2 separate regions of the Homo sapiens genome follow, and region 2 is linked to region 1. The links are contacts of gene promoters, found by promoter capture Hi-C in blood cells and fetal thymus (Javierre and others, 2016). All regions are on one chromosome and are shown on one strand. The core of a region is centred on a gene start or on the middle of the fragment in contact, and the rest is flanking DNA. Distances in the headings are between cores, read along the strand shown.

What was found. Contacts are between HindIII fragments. The CHiCAGO score rates a contact against its expected background, and 5 or more counts as called.
Region 2: a contact is called between the fragment with the promoter of ENKUR here and a fragment that was not itself captured in region 1, in 1 of 17 cell types (total CD8 T cells). The highest score is 5.5, in total CD8 T cells.

What each region holds. Positions count from the first base shown.
Region 1 is chr10:21,989,647-21,993,251 of GRCh38, reverse strand. The region is part of intron 1 of DNAJC1 (DnaJ heat shock protein family (Hsp40) member C1); the gene reads left to right. Among named protein-coding and RNA genes, the nearest start is that of DNAJC1, 12 kb to the left of the region's middle. RefSeq lists an enhancer at 3,558-3,605. The HindIII fragment of the contact is 5,693 bases long and covers 1-3,605 here.
Region 2 is chr10:25,014,095-25,017,699 of GRCh38, reverse strand. ENKUR (enkurin, TRPC channel interacting protein) reads left to right here and starts at 1,542. Exons shown (of 6, transcript NM_145010.4): 1 at 1,542-1,840. The coding sequence starts at 1,764. It overlaps THNSL1 (threonine synthase like 1), which reads right to left and starts at 1,088. Exons shown (of 3, transcript NM_024838.5): 1 at 1,008-1,088. RefSeq lists enhancers at 367-446, 1,046-1,340, 651-1,413 and silencers at 697-776, 957-1,156, 1,487-1,536. The HindIII fragment of the contact is 2,880 bases long and covers 272-3,151 here.

The DNA of each region.
Region 1 (3,605 bases), core at 602-3,101:
AGGGTGCAGGTGTGTGTGCGTATGCATTTATATACTTATGTGTGTATAGTAAATATATTTATAAATTTATGAGTGTATAGGCTGAGTATATAAATTTATGAGTATAAAATGTTCAGCTTGTAAAGTATATATATATGGTAAATATAAAAGTATATATGTAAACATAAAATTGTTTTATAAAATGATTCTTATCAAAATGTTTCCTATACTAAAGATCCTTGTTTAGCTCTCGTAGAAACAAAAGTATTGTTAAAGTATGGCCGAGGGAATTTAGATAGAGACGAAATCAATAAGTCTTTGATTAATTAGCATTCTTTACTTGATTACTTAGCCTGGATGTCAGAATGGCCATTAAATGTTACCAAAGTTTACAATAACTCCAGAGTAATACTTTAATGATCTGTAACGATCCACTGTATGAAGAGGATACAGATGACTTTGAAATGTATAAATATTCAAATTCTGGGTAGCCTAAAGAAATATTTTGTGACACTAAGGGATAAGATAATATTTTACATATAAATCATGACTGACAGATATTTCAGATTTTTGACAGCTGACACACTTTTTCAAGCCATTGATCCCTTAGAGCAGCACTGTGCAATAGATATGTGATACAAAACACAGAGGTGATGTTAAATTTTCTAAAAGTCACATTTAAGAATGTAAAAAACAGATGAACTTAATTTTTTTTTTTTTGAAATGGAGTCTTGCTCTGTTGCTCAGGCTGGAGTGCAGTGGCACAATCTCTGCTCACTGCAACCTCGTTCTCCTGGGTTCAAGCGATTCTCCTGCCTCAGCCTCCCTAGTAGCTAGGATTACAGGAGTGCACCACCATGCCCAGCCTGAAATTAATTTTGATAATGTATTTTATTTAACCCAATATACTAAAATATTATTCCAACATGGAGTCACATTTTCAAAAATTACTATTATTTTTTGAGACAGAGTCTCGTTCTGTCGCCCAGGCTGGTGTGCGATGGCACGATCTCAGATCACTGCAACCTCCGCCTCCCGGATTCAAGCAATTCTCCTGTCTCAGCCTCCCAAGTAACTGGGACTACGGGCACATGCCACCACACCCAGCTAATTTTTGCATTTTTAGTAGAGACGGGGTTTCACCATATTGGTCAGGCTGGTCTCGAACTCCTGATGTCAGGCGATCCGCCAACCTTGGCCTCCCAGAGTGCTGGGATTACAGGCGTGAGCCACCATGTCCAGCCAAAAATTATTAATGAAGTATTTCACATTTTAATTTTTTGTACTAAGTCAGCAAAATCCGTGTATGTTTTACATTTATACTTCTAGCACACCTTAATTTGGAAGCCAAATTTTGATTGAAAATACTTGATCTGTATTGAGATTTCATAAGGCATATAGCTAACAGGTACATTCACGTACCCAAATCGTTATAAGCAAAACTTTCCAGTAACTCAGTAGAATATCAGTTTTTCAATTTAAATATAAATTAATTAAAATTTTGGTTTCTCATTTGTACTGGCACATTTTAAGTGCTTAAATATGCCTAATGCTTATTGGATAGCATACATTGGATAGCCTTAGGGAATTAACATTTCTGTATTGTGTAGATATAGCTAAATGTTTTTGGATAAAATCACTGATTATTGTTTTTCACTGACTATTGTTTCCATTTTGTTAGGGACATAGTTTGTAGTTTTCGTATTTTTTTAAACCCAGTGTAGCTTTTGTTGTTTTGTTTTTAGGTTGTTCCAATTGTGCTAGCTATCATATTCCTAGTTACTTATCTATAGTATACATTTTGACCATGCTTTGTTCTGTAAAGGCTATTGGTATAAAGTTCATGCTGTTCTAGGAACATTGGTTGTCTGAACTTCCATGCATAGGCTTGTCTGCTAAGGGTGGTTTCAGGTAATCACTTTAATTAAAGTTGGTCATTTACTTTTGCTAGCTCATCTATTATATTTTATAATTCTTTAAGTGTTATTTATTAACAGTATATTAGGTCGTTAGTGATATTTTGACCAGGAAATCACTGGAGTTCCTATTTTGTAGTTTTAGCTTTCAGGGTGCCCATTCTCCCTATTCTGAAACTCATACATCTTATATATTGCTAGCTATGAAATATTCACTATATTCTTTCCTGTCATCTATTTTGATTATTATAGTATCTTTAATTAAATGATTTAGAATAGAGATTGCTAGGTGCATTTCTATTTGTGTGCCAATCTGTTGGCTCTTTATAATACCAATCAGGGATTCTAACATCACCCTTTTTTACTAGCTGCCTCTGCTACCTTTTCATAACTCCTAATGAGTACACCTTTACTTTGAACTGAATGATTAATTAACGATCTTTTTGCCTTTACCTTTTGTAATTTCATAAATAGCTGAGAAAAAGAAGTAGATTTTACTGTTGACAGTTCTTACACATACTTAGCTCCTGTTATTTCAAATGGACTTGGTACATCCAGGAAATTGTACTGGTGTCCAAGATCTTAAACATTCTATGCTGAGGGAAAAACAACAACAAAACAAAAATTTTAAAACTGACAATAGAGTCCTGAAGTTGGTGGAGACCTCACGAGTTTCTCTTTCCTTATATAGGAGTCTCTTCTGTAGCACTCCCAGCAGATGGTCTTCTAGCCTGTTTGATGGTGTCTAACCATAGGGATTATGAAACAACCTGTTAAGTTTTTGTATAATACTACTCAGTGGAAATTTTATTCTTAAAGCCCAAATCATAATTCTTATCTACTTTCAACATGCTCACTGTCTTCTGGAGTACCCCTGAACATATACTTCTTCTAAATAATTTTTCTTTGTGCCTTAAAATAAAATGCACAAGGGAAATAATTATTTGTTGATTTTCTCCACACAGTAAGGCCTTTTTTTAAAAAAAATACATCCAAACTGAGGGGGCTACTTGTTTTCATTGTCTTTAGATATGTACCAAGGCCACCCTAAAGAAGATGCAAGCCACCATAGTTACAGTTGTCTTGGCACTGTATTAGGCATGATTTGTGGTTACTATATACAATTCCCAGGGTTTATCAAAGTCAGCAATAGGAAATTTATGGAAGATTGAAAAATAAGATGATTTCTTGTATGCCATCTTTGATAATAGAGGCCACAGAATAAACTTAATTAAAAATGTAGCCAGAAATTGCTATAGACTCTTGAAGCAGCACCCCGTGTATAGTTGTGCAGTTTGTGTATCTGCTTCAAACCTGTCATTGTGTTATAAAAATGTTTTAGACTTTGGCATTGTTAAGAATTGCACATAGGTGGTTAAACTGTGAAGTAAATAATTTCTCTTTGATAATTGAAATATTATGTTTCTGCGAGTGGAATTTTAATTTTCAGGCCCATCTTGAGTGTGAGTTTCTCTCTCCTCTCTCTTCACCTCTCCCTAGTGGCTTTATAGATGTTTTTACTCTTTTCTCTGAGACACCTAGGCAAGAACTAGGTCTTATATAGGTGGCTTAGGGCTCCCTCCTGAGGTTACATTGGGGCCATTGCAGATCCAGATACCAAGCCTGCAGGTCCCTTGGCCTGGTCTGGACTGTGGGGCTAAAACCATTGCCTCTTAACATCTCAGATACATAATGTTTTGTAAGTTGTAG
Region 2 (3,605 bases), core at 293-2,792, 3.0 Mb before region 1:
ATGTGAAGAAATCTGGAGAATTTTCCCTAAGCGTCTGGGACAAAAATTAAAATCAACTGTATACAAAAAAAAAAAAAAGAAAAACTTAACGTATTCTTATGTAGTGAAATTCAGTAAGAGCCCAAAGTAAGGACCTACACATTCAGTAAAGCCTTTTTATACAGGAACTAAAAGGTTCACCAGGCCATTGTGTTGTTTTAATCACTCCGCCAGCCAACCAGGCAGTGAGAAACCCAGACTCAAGTGTGTTTTCTCTCCTCTCCGGGAAGCTTTATTTCCTTCGGGCAGAGTGGCCTCTGTACCGGTGGTTCAGAGGCATCCATCTTCCTCCCCAAATCCTATTACCAAAATGTCTTTTAAACACTCGGGTAAAAGCGTCTAAATGACTTTCCTACGGCAGGCCCATGTGCATAGATTTACGGGTGACCAGGTGGAACAAAAAGGAATAAAACCGCTTCTCAGAAGACAATTTTCCAACAAGGGACACCAAAAACTGGACAAAAACGTAAAGGCCCACTTAAAAGGCTTCTCCTCTTAGTTTAGGCTGCTCATTTACAAAGAGCAGGTCCACTGGTTCCTGGAGAACGACCTAGAGGAAGAGTCCCGACCCGGGGAAGAGCAGGCGCAGAGCCGACCCGGAGGACCGCCCAAGGGGCGGTCCCGGGAGCAGGGGCGGGAGGGCGAGCGCAGCAGGCGGAGGAGGCCGCGGGCCCCGTGCGCGCACTCACACACGTGGCGGGCAGGGCTGCGCGGCGTTCCGAGGAGCCTCGACCAGAAGCAGCAGGAAAAATGCGCGCAGAGTTGAGATGACCAGCGAGTAGCGGAAAGGGGAAGGGACGGTACGGGGAAAGGCATGCGATGGGAGCGGGCTGGCTTCTAGTTTTCCTTCCTTTCTCCTCCAATAACTCACCAAGGAAATCTCACTGAGAAGACGGGGGAAATGAAAGGAAATGGGGGAGCAGTGTCCACGAGCCGCTAAAGCCTCCACAGGAGACGGAGCACCGTACCTGCAGCTAGCTCCCCGGTCCCGCCCCCGCGCAGTGGACTCTGCGCCTGTGCCTGCGGCGGCCAGCGTGCCTCCGCTCCACGCCCTTCCCCGAGCGGCCTCGCGCAGGGCACGTGACTCTCCTTTCTCACTGTAGCCTATCCGAGCACTCCGATCTCCTCAGGCTCCTCCCCTCCCTCGTCTCCCTGGCGGCGCTGGCCTTGCGTCCTCGTGGTCTCAGCCGCTCGCTCCGCCCACACCGCGATTGGGGCCTGCTCACAAAAACCTTATTGGGTGACGCCTGCGCACCAGCTGCGCTTTGCCGTCTCTACTAGGATTTTTCTTTTTTCCCCAGATACACAGAAATAGAAAAGAGCACAGTTTTTAAGGGGACATCATTTTCACCCCGTTAACTTTCAAAGGCACGTAAAAACAGTGGCTTCCAAATGAGCTTCTCTAGCAGAAGGCGCTGCAGAAAGAGGGAAGAGGGGAGACCTAGTTTGCGGTGCTGCCTGCCACTTCCTCGTTGCCTAGTAACGGTTTCCACGGCAACCGCACAGTCAACGACGCTTAGCAATCCGGAGAGAAATAGGGTGTTTTCTTCCCGAGAGAGGACTGCTAAGAGGGGGTTAAAGGGGGACGATGTGAAGGAGAGAACCTGTGGTCCTTCAGAAGGCGAAGAAGAAAGAAAGGGGAAGCAGTGAAGAAAGGGACGGAGATACTGGGACAGGGAGAAAAAAGTTGTGGAGAGTAGCTTTTAAGGAGTCATTTGGTGGCCATGGATCCAACGTGCTCTTCTGAGTGCATTTATAACCTCATACCCAGTGACTTGAAGGAGCCTCCCCAGCCTCCTAGGTATGTGGATAAGCAAAGACTATCACTTGAAACAAGAATGGGGAATACTCAGTATTAATTAAGCATACATATACTGGAATTTTTAATAATAAATAAAATGTATTTTTGCCTCGATGAAGTAGCCTTGGAGGATAACTTGTTAGAGAAAAGGTCGAAATATCTAGGTATTCAGCATCTCACAGTTTTACAGAGAGGGCAGTCTGGCGCTGTGAGATGACCATTTTATTATATTACACTTAACCTCTTATTAATACGGTATGTGATTATTGTGTAATTTAATTATATGTGATATACAGCATAGTATGAAGTTTCATGTTGAAAAGAAAAAAATCACAATTCTATTATCTTGTTTAAGGATACTTGATGTTTGGTTTCAGGAGTTCGGTGTTGTATTTCTAACTGCACTACTCCCTCTCTAATGGGATAGGATAGGACTTTTCCCCCAAGATTTTTATGAAATATAAATTTACATTTGCTTTTGAGCCTCAGGTTTTTGATCAGTGAAACGAAATATCTACCACTATTAGGCAGTTTCTAAGGACTTTTTCAGATCTAATGGTTTAAATGGAAGGAAGAATTGGTGGATAGATAATGAACCAAAAAATATGTAATTGAGTTGAAATTTTACATAGGTCTTAGAACCTCTTAAATTCTCCAAATCTCAAAAACGTGCAAAGGAAGCACTTCAGTTACTCCCATCTGTAGGGACTTCTTAGAACTTACTTAAATCTGTGGGGAGCAAAGAAAGTAGTGGAGAAAATCTCATTTCTCCTAGGACTTGAAATGTTTCCTGTCTTTTACCATCATCCTTGTCCGTATGCAAGTCAAAACCACATTTGAAAAGGACTGGACTAAAAATCGGGCCTAGCAATTAATTGTCTTTGTGAACTTTAGAATAAAGTTTCATTTGTTTACTGATCTGTGAGATAAATGTACCAGATAATATCCAAGGCCCCTTTTAGATCTAATGGTCAATTATTTTTACTAGTATTAGGGTAATAGCTTCAACAAGTAGGCAGCTTCTTCAATTTTAAGTATCTGGTTTAAATTAGAGCAGTAACTGTATTACATCTCCATTAGCATATCAACATCTAGAGACTGGAAAGAGGAATGTAAAGTAAGTTATGGCACAGTTGCAGAATTTATTTTCAAATTTTCTATTGTTGCACCAACTTTTGGTTTCAAATTCCTGCATATTACATGAGATAAAACTCCTCTATAACAGATTGGTAGATTGTATTTCTATAGAATATTGAATTTGAGAGTTATTTTATTAGGTAGGTATTCTGTTCTTTGGCAAATTAAAAAGCTTTACTGCATCTAGACGATTTTTTTTTTCAAAAAAAATTTATAGGAACAGTCTTTATTCATTTGGCAAGCATTAATGGAGCCCCTATTATGTGTATAATATTGCACTAGTATATCTGTTCTTGGTGCTGTTGGAGTGATAGCACAGACTTCTTGGTTTTACTATGAAGAAATGAGTAGAAGAAAGATTTATGATTAGAGGAAATAGAGGCACCCAAATGTGATGCCAAAAGAATCATTTCTGTTAGGTTAAAGTCAATTTACACTGGCAAGATTCTGACAACTGCCTGGCTTTTGATCTCCCACGCCTCAGAGTTTACCGTCTTTTTGGGGAACTGAAATATGAACACTAAAATTTATCATTGAAAACCATAATGAGAGATGAAGATACTAAATGAGAACTTAGAAGATGAATGTATGTGACCAAAATCGGATGAAAGGCACTTTTCTGCAGTTG